Linked DNA regions of Homo sapiens: region 2 is linked to region 1. Evidence: promoter capture Hi-C in 16 types of primary human blood cells and fetal thymus (Javierre and others, 2016). All regions are on one chromosome and are shown on one strand. The core of a region is centred on a gene start or on the middle of the fragment in contact, and the rest is flanking DNA. Distances in the headings are between cores, read along the strand shown.

Region 1 (5,294 bases), core at 2,635-5,134:
GCAGGTATCGTAGCCCCTTCGTTCTGGTTCTGGTTCTAGTTCTGGTTCTAACAACTCACAATCCCTTTAGCTTTCTCTCCCCTCCCTTTGAATGAGAGAAACTACCCCGCTTCCGAAGCCCCTGAAAGACACTGCTCCTTCCTCTCATGGAGTTGGCTCCGACAGCCCGTCTGCCACCAGGCCATGGTTCCTTGCCCCATGGTGTCCTGGGACCCAGAGCAACAGGATCTGTCACCCACCTCTCTCTTCTCCCCCAGATCAAGCGACGTGCCTCAGAGGCTTTGCCCGAATTGCTTCGTCCTGTCACCCCCATCACCAATTTTGAGGGCAGCCAGTCTCAGGACCACAGTGGAATCTTTGGCCTGGTAACAAACCTGGAAGAGCTGGAGGTGGACGATTGGGAGTTCTGAGCCTCTGCAAACTGTGCGCATTCTCCAGCCAGGGATGCAGAGGCCACCCAGAGGCCCTTCCTGAGGGCCGGCCACATTCCCGCCCTCCTGGGCAGATTGGGTAGAAAGGACATTCTTCCAGGAAAGTTGACTGCTGACTGATTGGGAAAGAAAATCCTGGAGAGACACTTCACTGCTCCAAGGCTTTTGAGACACAAGGGAATCTCAACAACCAGGGATCAGGAGGGTCCAAAGCCGACATTCCCAGTCCTGTGAGCTCAGGTGACCTCCTCCGCAGAAGAGAGATGCTGCTCTGGCCCTGGGAGCTGAATTCCAAGCCCAGGGTTTGGCTCCTTAAACCCGAGGACCGCCACCTCTTCCCAGTGCTTGCGACCAGCCTCATTCTATTTAACTTTGCTCTCAGATGCCTCAGATGCTATAGGTCAGTGAAAGGGCAAGTAGTAAGCTGCCTGCCTCCCTTCCCTCAGACCTCTCCCTCATAATTCCAGAGAAGGGCATTTCTGTCTTTTTAAGCACAGACTAAGGCTGGAACAGTCCATCCTTATCCCTCTTCTGGCTTGGGCCCTGACACCTAAGTCTTTCCCACGGTTTATGTGTGTGCCTCATTCCTTTCCCACCAAGAATCCATCTTAGCGCCTCCTGCCAGCTGCCCTGGTGCTTTCTCCAAGGGCCATCAGTGTCTTGCCTAGCTTGAGGGCTTAAGTCCTTATGCTGTGTTAGTTTCGTTGTCAGAACAAATTAAAATTTTCAGAGACGCTGCTGGAGAATGGCATTGTGTCTGCGTCAGCTCAGGGGCTACAGGCTGCTTCCTGGTGTGTGTGCTTGCAGGGATGGCCGTGCTGCCCCAGGTGAGAGCTGTCCCACCATCCAAGAGCAGGCCCATGGGTGCTCACTGAAGCTCAGCAGTGACCTCTTACACTAGATAGACCAGTTTATTTGAAAACCTGTAACAGATCTGTCTCTTAACTATCTAAAATTTTAAGACTATGAATTTTAGCCTGTGGTCATCAAACCACTTTGGAGCTAAAAAGTTCCAAAGATTGAGATTGAGGCAGAGGATGCTGGTGGCCTTTGGCAGGAAAGGAGGTAGAAGGGTTTGTCTTGCAACCGGACATGGGTGTCTCCTTACCCTGGGTGCTAGCACCCAAAGAGCAGGAAACCTAAGAACCAGCCCCGCCCATCCCTGCCATGCTGGCTGGCGCCAGCGAGTGTGAGCCAGGGGGTGCAAATCTGAGGCTCCCTGCAGTGCTTCCAGGGCACATGGCTTACCCTTCTCCCAGTCCCTCAGGGGGAAGGCCCTCCCCCAGCTCAGGCACCTCAAATGCCCCTCTAACCTGAAGCTGCACTGAACCATCAGGTGCCCTTGCTTTCCGTTTCCTCCCAAATTTTAACAGCAGTTTAAAGAAGAAAAGTAAGCCTCTTTGGGCAGTGAGAGGCTAAGGTGAAGGGAATGACACTGACCCTGGGCTAGGATGGGGCCTGGGGCGAGTGAGTGTCGGGGGCGGCGGGGAGCATTTCCGGCCCTCCTCCCCCTGCTTTAAACCTCAAGTTCCCTTCGCCTCGCCCCGCCCTCCCCCCCCCACACACACACAAACACAGAGTCTGTCGCCCAGGCTGGCGTGCACTGGCTTCATGTTGACTCACTGTAGGCTCCACCTCCCGGGTTCAAGCGATTCTTCTGCCTCAGCCTCCCGAGTAGCTAGGATTACAGGCACACACCACCACGCCTGGATAATTTTTGTATTTTTAGTAGAGACGGGATTTCACCATGTTGGCCAGGCTGGTCTTGGACTTCTGACCTCGTGATCCACCTGTCTCTGCCTCCCAAAGTGCTGGGACTACAGGCGTGAGCCACCGCCGAGCCAAGTTCCCTTTTTTTGTTTGTTTTTGACGCTGGTCATCAGTTTCCTTTGCTTCTGGATGCCTTCTGCACCTTGCTGTTGGGGCATCCTCAATGCCCATCTGCAGCTCAGCCCACAGGCCCGTCCTGGGCAGGGTGCCGGGGCCTCACCATGCCCAATGGCAGCAAGCCCTGCTCCTAGTACCCCCGGGGCTTCCCGTTTCTTGCATCAAACAGCCCCTTTGGAGAATCTGATGACAGGTGTGGAAGCTTTCCCGAGAGGCAGCCACTTTAGAGGGTCTGACGCTCCCCACTAGAGAGTCGGCCCACAGTGCAGACAAAACGCAGATCTTCCTCTAGAGAGAACAGAAGGCTGGAGAGGAGACGCGGAGCCGGTCCGTGGAGTCCGCCAGCCTGGGAAACAGCTGGTCGCTGGGGAAGCTGCAGCCTCCCTGCTCCCCTGCCAGGCGTCGGGCGAGAGCTGTTCTGTTCCCTGACAAGCGCGTGGGCCGCCAGTGCTATTCCTGCCACAGTGTGGGAAGGCGCTGGGCTAAGGGCTGTGCTTCCCGGAGCTGCTTCTAGCCTGATTTCCGGCCAAGCCACGCAGTCCCTGGTGCCCGGGAAGGCGCCGGCCTCGCCGCCGCTCCAAAGCGAGTGGCCGTCTCTCGCCGGCTGTGCCTCCGGCCTGCTGTGCGGCTGCAGGGAGGGAGCAGCTCTGCGGCCCAAGCTCTGTCACCTCAGCTCTCTGGGCCGCGGCTCCCACGTGAGAAATGAGGTGCGCTTGTTGGAGAGGGGGCCCCCGTTGCTGCCCACAGAATTCCGCCCCAGAAACGCTTGAGTACGTGGAGCCTCGGGGGACGGGTGCTCCGGGAACCACGCATACCGGCCTCCCCAGCCCGTCGCAGGGTTGCAGAGGCGCCGAGGGCTGGGGGGGCTGCCGGGGCTGCCGGGCCCTCGTGCAGGCTCCTCCCCGCAGCCTCGCGGCCGGGCCTGGAGACCGCGTGCCCGGACGCCGCCGCCAGCCTCGTGGGCCGCAAAGGGGCGGGGGCGGCCCCTGGCGGCGGGAGGACTCGGCCGCCCGAGGGACCCCGGGCCAGGCTCCGGGGTCGCCCCGGCTGGGTCTCTGCGGCCCCACAGCTCTGGGCGGGGATGGGGGCGCCGGCGCCTACGCGCGAGGCCAACCGGGGGAAACCGAGGCAGTGAATGGCCCAGGCCCCGCCCGGTTATCCCGGAGCCAGGCCGGGAGCGCCCAGTGTCCCGCGACCGCAGCCGCCGCAGCCTGAACTCGTCCCCTCCCAGTAGGATGCGGAGCGCGGCCCTTCCATCCTGTCCCTGCCACCGTTGCTTCCCCACGCCGGGCCGCCGTCGGGATGGGCAGACGGCGCGGCCGGTACCCGAGGCCTGCGAGCGCGAGGCCCGCGGGGCGCTGCGGAGCCGGGAGCGCGGAGCCGGGGCGGGGGACAGACAAAGGCGGGGACGGCGGCGAGGGGAAGACAAAGCGCGGAGGGGGGTCGGCGGCGGCGCCGGGGCCCCGAAGGCGGCTCCGGGCGCGGCGGAGCCAATGGGCGGGCGCGGGGCGGGGGCCGGCGGGGGCGGTGCAGCGATAAGGCGGTGGCGGCGGCGGTGGCTCGGGGACCACTGGTAGCGGCAGCAGCTCGCGCCCGCGCCCTCCTCGTACCCGTGCGCCCCCGGAGACCGATCCCGCCCCGCGGCCCAGGCCGGGCCTGGTGAGAGCCGCGGGGGGAGGGGCCGCGTCCGGCTCCGGAACCGGGAGAGGCGCCGAGGGGTGTGGGGTGAGGGCCGCCCGTGGGGTCCCGGCGAGTCTGCGAGCCGCTCTCGCCCGGGGCGCACAGGCTCGAGTCCTCGTTTCAGGGCCGGCCCCCGGCTGGGCGGAGCCGAGACCCGCTGGCGGGGCTCGCGGCGTCGGGGTCTGGGGTCCGGTCCTCGCGGGGCCAGGTCGGGGGCCGAGGGGCGGGGCGGGCGGGGACCTCGGGCGCTGTCCAGGGGCTGCGCAGCCTAGGCCTGGACGCCCGGGCGCGGCGCAGGGCAGCGAGGGCCGGGGTCAGGTCGGGGCAGCGGCTTCTCATCGCGGCCCCGCCGGCCCCGACCTCCCCTCACCCCAAGCGGTCCCAGCCCGCGGGACGCACACGGCGGCTGCGCGGGAGCCCCCGGCCCCTCCGCTCCCGCTAACTTTGTTCTTCCGAGGGACGGTGCCACTCGGGACCCCGGCCCCTGGGGAGCAGGGGTGGGGGAGGTGGGTGAGGGGCGGAAGTGGCAAGACCAAGAGCAACAGGAAATGACTTAGGGAAAGTCCCAACCGCAATCCCCCCAGCCCCTGCCTGTCAACACCCCCCACCCTGCAGGCTGGGGCCGGGCTGGCGGGGCCCTCCCGACTGACTTCCCCTTGCAGAACCCAGCGGGTGCCGCTTCTCCACCCGAGGCTTCCACCTCCAACGAGCCATGTTCCAGGCTGCAGGAGCCGCCCAGGCCACCCCCTCTCATGTAAGTGCCCGGCTGGGTGGGAGGGCCCCCCGGACAGGAGCCTGGCCTGGGGTGAAGGGGAGAGGCATCAGAGTTTGCCGGCCCCCTTTGTGCCCTGCGGCGCGCCCCTGGGCCTTGGGCTGATGGCTGCAGCCCTGATCCAGGGCCTCCCGGAGCTGCCCCTGCCCTGACCGCCCCTCTCCCTCAGGACGCCAAAGGCGGCGGCAGCAGCACGGTGCAGCGCTCCAAGGTAGGGGCCTGGGGCCGGGTGTGCGGGAGGAGGGGTGTGAGGGAGCGGGATGAGCACTGGGGCAGCACCTGGCTGAGCTTCCCGCACAGTCCTTCAGCCTGCGGGCCCAGGTGAAGGAGACCTGCGCCGCCTGCCAGAAGACCGTGTACCCCATGGAGCGGCTGGTGGCCGACAAGCTCATTTTCCACAACTCTTGCTTCTGCTGCAAGCACTGTCACACCAAGCTCAGGTGCGCCCCTGCCCTGCCCGCCCCCGCCTCGCCTGCCAACCCAGCCCCGACCTGACCTGACCTGACGCCGTTGTTTGGCTTCTG
Region 2 (5,294 bases), core at 1,994-4,493, 800 kb before region 1:
GAAGATGTGATGAGCTTACCAGAAAAATGAGGAGAGATGGGTATGTGTGAGCTCCTCCATTGAAGCAGATTGATTAAAACAGCTTAGGAAAGGGCAAACTTGGATCACGAGCAGTGGATTTTTTTCATATCTGATAGTGAATTTAACTTTTTCATTTCTGGCGAAATTAAAGAGATCTGTGACCAAAAGTGGTCAAGCACTGGAGTCTGAGGTTTTCAATGTGAGTTTAATAACACAACTTGTCTTTTAACTTAGGTGGCCTGCCATGGGTATCCATGGTGACAAGAGTCAACAAGAGCGTGACTGGGTTCTAAATGGTAAATATTTCAAATGAAGTATTTTTCCCCCTTACTTAACCTAGCTAGAATTCTGCTCAGATAATTGATCATGTATATGCCTTCCTTTGTAGAATTCAAACATGGAAAAGCTCCTATTCTGATTGCTACAGATGTGGCCTCCAGAGGGCTAGGTTAGTACAAACTCGCATTCATGGCTTGGTTTCCCAGAAGATCTCCATTTAACTTTTTTAAAGAAAGTTTATTGCTTTCTTTAACCTGCATTTTTTCTAAGTTTTTTTTCACATAAAGGTGCTGTCTTTGTGGCAAGGCCTAGGCATGACAATCGGAGGACTCGAGGGGGATGGAGGACTAGTGATCGGCTGGCTGCTTCCAGTCGATTAGAGAGGTGAAAAAGCTGAACGTGTGCCAGTAATCTTCAAAAGGCAGAACATATCACCTCTGCCCCGTAAACTGTTCTCTCCGAGGGAAAAAATGGAAGTTATCCTCACAGTTCACTGCCGTGGTATTTCTTCTGTCCCATGCTTTGCATGACTGCCATGGTACAGCCTTGTTTCAAACTGTTCACTGTGATCTGTGGGTCTTTGAGTTTCAGTGAGTTTGCTGAAATGTCGAAGAAGTAGTTCCAAACTTCAATGTTCAATGAAATTTTTGTTCAAGTTTGAAATGGAGAGAGCAGCTTTAAAAGGTACTAAGCCTTTTACAAATTGGTGAGTACTGGCACATGAGATCTAGAGCAGGAGCAACTTCTCACACATAGTAAGTGGGAAAAGAAAGTGCTTTGAAAGTTCCTCCCTCACCTACACAGTAGTCGTCATGTCGAGACCTGCCAGAGAGAGACACATTCTCAAGTGAATCCTGGCTTCTTGGAAGCGCTTGCCTAGACGAGACACAGTGCATAAAAACAACTTTTGGGGGACAGGTATGTTTTCTTGCAGCTGCGGTTGTAAGGTCTTGGCAAGACAAGCAGTGTGGCCAGAATTTTGAACTTCTGATGAATGTGTAATGCAAAGGACCTTGTACATTTTTTTGTTTCAAGGTCCTCAAAATGAGCACATGAAGAGGTTGCTGTGAAACTTTAAGTGGCCCTACTGCGCAGAAGCATTCAGATGTCACTTGATGATCTGTAAGGGAACTTGCTGATTTGGGAATGTGCTTAGGGAACACACATTCCTTTTGACAGGGTCTGTCACTGGGTGGGTGATGAATTATACAGATGACATGTGCTTTTTTTTCTTTTTTCAACCTCAATGGTATTCCTACAGGAAATGGATAACCATTTTAACTGTATTTTTTGCAGCCCGTACCTTCTTGGGAATACAATTGTCTAACTTTTTATTTTTGGTCTGGCTGTTGTGGTGTGCAAAACTCCGTACATTGCTATTTTGCCACACTGCAACACCTTACAGATGTGGAAGATGTGAAATTTGTCATCAATTATGACTACCCTAACTCCTCAGAGGATTATATTCATCGAATTGGAAGAACTGCTCGCAGTACCAAAACAGGCACAGCATACACTTTCTTTACACCTAATAACATAAAGCAAGTGAGCGACCTTATCTCTGTGCTTCGTGAAGCTAATCAAGCAATTAATCCCAAGTTGCTTCAGTTGGTCGAAGACAGAGGTTCAGGTAAGGATGACTGATAGGAAATGTTGGTAGTTACGAGTCACATCGTTGTCTACAAATCCATTTAAATGGTATTGGAGGGTGAGTAAAACCTTGAATGTGAAAACTTAAGCTGAAAAATTGTAAAAACATTTCACGCCTACCATGAATAGATCTGTTTCTTTCTGTCCACAATGATTTGTGTCATAGACATAATTGATCAATTTGCAATTGTTTTCTTGACAGGTCGTTCCAGGGGTAGAGGAGGCATGAAGGATGACCGTCGGGACAGATACTCTGCGGGCAAAAGGGGTGGATTTAATACCTTTAGAGACAGGGAAAATTATGACAGAGGTTACTCTAGCCTGCTTAAAAGAGATTTTGGGGCAAAAACTCAGAATGGTGTTTACAGTGCTGCAAATTACACCAATGGGAGCTTTGGAAGTAATTTTGTGTCTGCTGGTATACAGACCAGTTTTAGGACTGGTAATCCAACAGGGACTTACCAGAATGGTTATGATAGCACTCAGCAATACGGAAGTAATGTTCCAAATATGCACAATGGTATGAACCAACAGGCATATGCATATCCTGCTACTGCAGCTGCACCTATGATTGGTTATCCAATGCCAACAGGATATTCCCAATAAGACTTTAGAAGTATATGTAAATGTCTGTTTTTCATAATTGCTCTTTATATTGTGTGTTATCTGACAAGATAGTTATTTAAGAAACATGGGAATTGCAGAAATGACTGCAGTGCAGCAGTAATTATGGTGCACTTTTTCGCTATTTAAGTTGGATATTTCTCTACATTCCTGAAACAATTTTTAGGTTTTTTTTGTACTAGAAAATGCAGGCAGTGTTTTCACAAAAGTAAATGTACAGTGATTTGAAATACAATAAATGAAGGCAATGCATGGCCTTCCAATAAAAAATATTTGAAGACTGAATTAAGTGGAAATTGTACTTTATTTTATATAATGTCATGTAAAACTTTGCTTAAGATGGTCTGGTTTTTTTTTTGTTTTTGTTTGGTTTTTTTTTTCCATGAAAACAAATGACTGTTCCTTTTTATTTAATTTGGGAGGCAGGGGGAATCAGAAGGCCCTTCTTTATAATGAGCTATTCATATTGCAGGAGTCAGAATGAATTGATACAGGTGAATTTTTAGTTACAGGCTAAATTGCATAAAAGCTTTGTCAGCTTCCAGCATCAGGGGAGTCATTTAATAGCCTTTTTCCTTATTTGCTAGTATGGTTAAATGAGAAAATAGTAAAATAGATACAAAGTCATCTATATAGTGTGAGAACGTGGGTGACTTTTTCAAAGTTTATAATTTAAAAAGCTCCAAATAACTGGCTTTTTCAAGAGACTTATACTCATGCTCTTGGCTATACTGTGAATTACTGAAATGTTGAACAAACCTGTGAAAGACATACATTAGCCCTTTAAGATGGCCAGGAGCTAAGCTTGAGTCTCCTTTACTGAATTTCGTTCTTAGTGCAGGTTACTTGTAGATTCTAGTCTTCACAGGCTCCCTGGGGCTCTTAACTAGTCACACTGGGAGTCATGAATGTCTTTCCAATAATTCAGGGAATTCTAGAGATCCTCAAACTGTAAGGTCTATTCATACTCAACACAAGGAAAAAACCTCATTAAAATTAATGACTAATCAGGAGGCAACGTAACCAAAAGCACAGTGAATGAAAGTTTTCATGGTAGGTTCAACATGGGTTTATTGCTAGAAAGATCCAGGGGATAGCTTTAGGTTTAACTTCGGCTCACCAACGTAACTTTCTAATCATTTATTTCAGTAATAGCTAGAAGTGGGTCTGAATGTTTTCCCAGAGTCTGATACGTGTTTTTTTTTGCCAGAAGAGAGGTCTTCAGGAGACTTCATTTAAATTCTGATTATTAAACTGAGGCTTTAATTGATGTTAATGCCTTATGTCAAATGTAAAGTTAGAATTTGCTAGGGCTGGGATAGGGAGTGATATTTCTAGGACTTAGACATTGAAAACTAATTCAGCCTGTAGTAACCTGGATGGTTTTCAATGGCATGGTTAGTCAAATTCATGGTTTTAAACTTAGAAGCAGCTTTCGGGGGAGAGGGTAGGTTGGAGCATTTATTACATATTTTACTGTTTAATGTCTTAACCGTGGGCCTTTTAATTTGTAAACACTGAAATGATTGTTGGGCTGTGGAAAACATTTACCTATTTACCTTGGAAGTTTTAAAAGACAGTCCACTTTTTAGCATGTGTGTTGTGTCCAGCCTGTGGTCGTCTTAACTAATAAATGTGATTTTTCTCCCCATTCTCTCTTTTTATTTATTTGCGTATAGGCCTTTTACCTGGTGTGAGTTCCTGAATGTGGAAAACACCTGGCAGTAGTACCCAGCTTTGCAGTTAATTACTATCTAGCTGGCCTTTTTTTAAACCCTTGTATACACTTGTAAAGAAGAACTATTTCCTGAACCTGGTACAGCACTTTACTAATGATAAAACTTTACTCCTGAATTACATTAACTCAATTGCTAAGCTGTTACCCCTCTTAATCAGGTAGTAGTTTGGTAGTCTCACAGTGAAATGTAGATTGTTCCTTTTTCCCTGAACCTCTTTAAAGGTTTTCGTAACTGAGGCTGGTATAAGAAATCATGGACTTTGGAATCAAACTTCCTCAGTCTGGGTATACCACTTTTCCACTTTCTGGGTAGGTCTTAAGGTCTCGACCTATTTAAATAGAAACTGCAAAATCAGAAACCTGCAATTTAATCATGAGTCTCTTAATAATAACAGTCACAAGTCTCATTGTTTTGATGAACCCATAGAAGGGGCCCCTGGAAGAAATTGCACGTACGTGGTTTTCTCTGACACCAGGAGGGTTTAAGACATGTCAGGGCCCCTTGGTTTATTTCTAGTGCATTCCCAGGTGAGGCAGATGCTGCTGGCTGGGGACTGCCCTTTGGAAGCCACTGCAATATTTAAAGTGACCATACCACTACCCTAGTCACGAAGCCTATCGCCCCCCTCCCCGGAAGCTTAAGCGTCAAGACAACGGCTCTGGGGTTAGGCCTAGGCCACCTGGCGGCAGCATTTGCCTAGTTAAGAAGGCCTGGGCTTACAAATCACCGTAAAGGACTAAAACTGTTTAAAGGGAAACCAAATGCCAAATTTAGTCCAAGTGCTTGATTGAGGTGTATATAGAAGGTGATTTGGATAATACTGAAGTATTTTAATTTTCTGGACTGCAAAACAGTGGCAGAAGGAAGTGACTCAAGTGGCTACACCACGGTTATAAATAGGTGGGAATAACCTTTACTGGTGCTTACGAGGAAAGAAAAAAGTCAATCTGAAGGGAGGGGCGCGACGCGAACGGCAAGCTA

Evidence for each region. The method cuts DNA at HindIII sites, captures the fragments that hold promoters and counts their contacts. A CHiCAGO score of 5 or more calls a contact.
Region 2: a fragment that was not itself captured here is called in contact with the fragment with the promoter of LIMD2 in region 1 in 1 of 17 cell types (naive CD8 T cells); the score reaches 5.8 in naive CD8 T cells.

The regions. Positions count from the first base shown.
Region 1 is chr17:63,698,715-63,704,008 of GRCh38, reverse strand. LIMD2 (LIM domain containing 2) reads left to right here and starts at 3,884. Exons shown (of 5, transcript NM_030576.4): 1 at 3,884-3,977; 2 at 4,661-4,752; 3 at 4,940-4,981; 4 at 5,071-5,210. The coding sequence starts at 4,711. It overlaps LOC729683 (a long non-coding RNA gene), which reads right to left and starts at 3,671. Exons shown (of 1, transcript NR_046273.1): 1 at 1,324-3,671. It overlaps STRADA (STE20 related adaptor alpha), which reads left to right. Exons shown (of 13, transcript NM_001003787.4): 12 at 1-4; 13 at 258-1,177. The coding sequence ends at 410. RefSeq lists silencers at 1,906-1,985, 3,176-4,135, 4,226-4,685, 4,776-5,005 and enhancers at 2,406-2,505, 2,301-2,885, 2,886-3,471. The HindIII fragment of the contact is 14,945 bases long and covers 2,523-5,294 here.
Region 2 is chr17:64,497,185-64,502,478 of GRCh38, reverse strand. It overlaps DDX5 (DEAD-box helicase 5), which reads left to right. Exons shown (of 13, transcript NM_004396.5): 9 at 1-40; 10 at 256-317; 11 at 410-469; 12 at 1,706-1,930; 13 at 2,153-4,225. The coding sequence ends at 2,556. MIR3064 (microRNA 3064) reads left to right here and starts at 1,640; the gene lies at 1,640-1,705. MIR5047 (microRNA 5047) reads left to right here and starts at 1,166; the gene lies at 1,166-1,265. It also overlaps a transcript of MILR1 not described here. RefSeq lists an enhancer at 5,148-5,287. The HindIII fragment of the contact is 275 bases long and covers 3,106-3,380 here.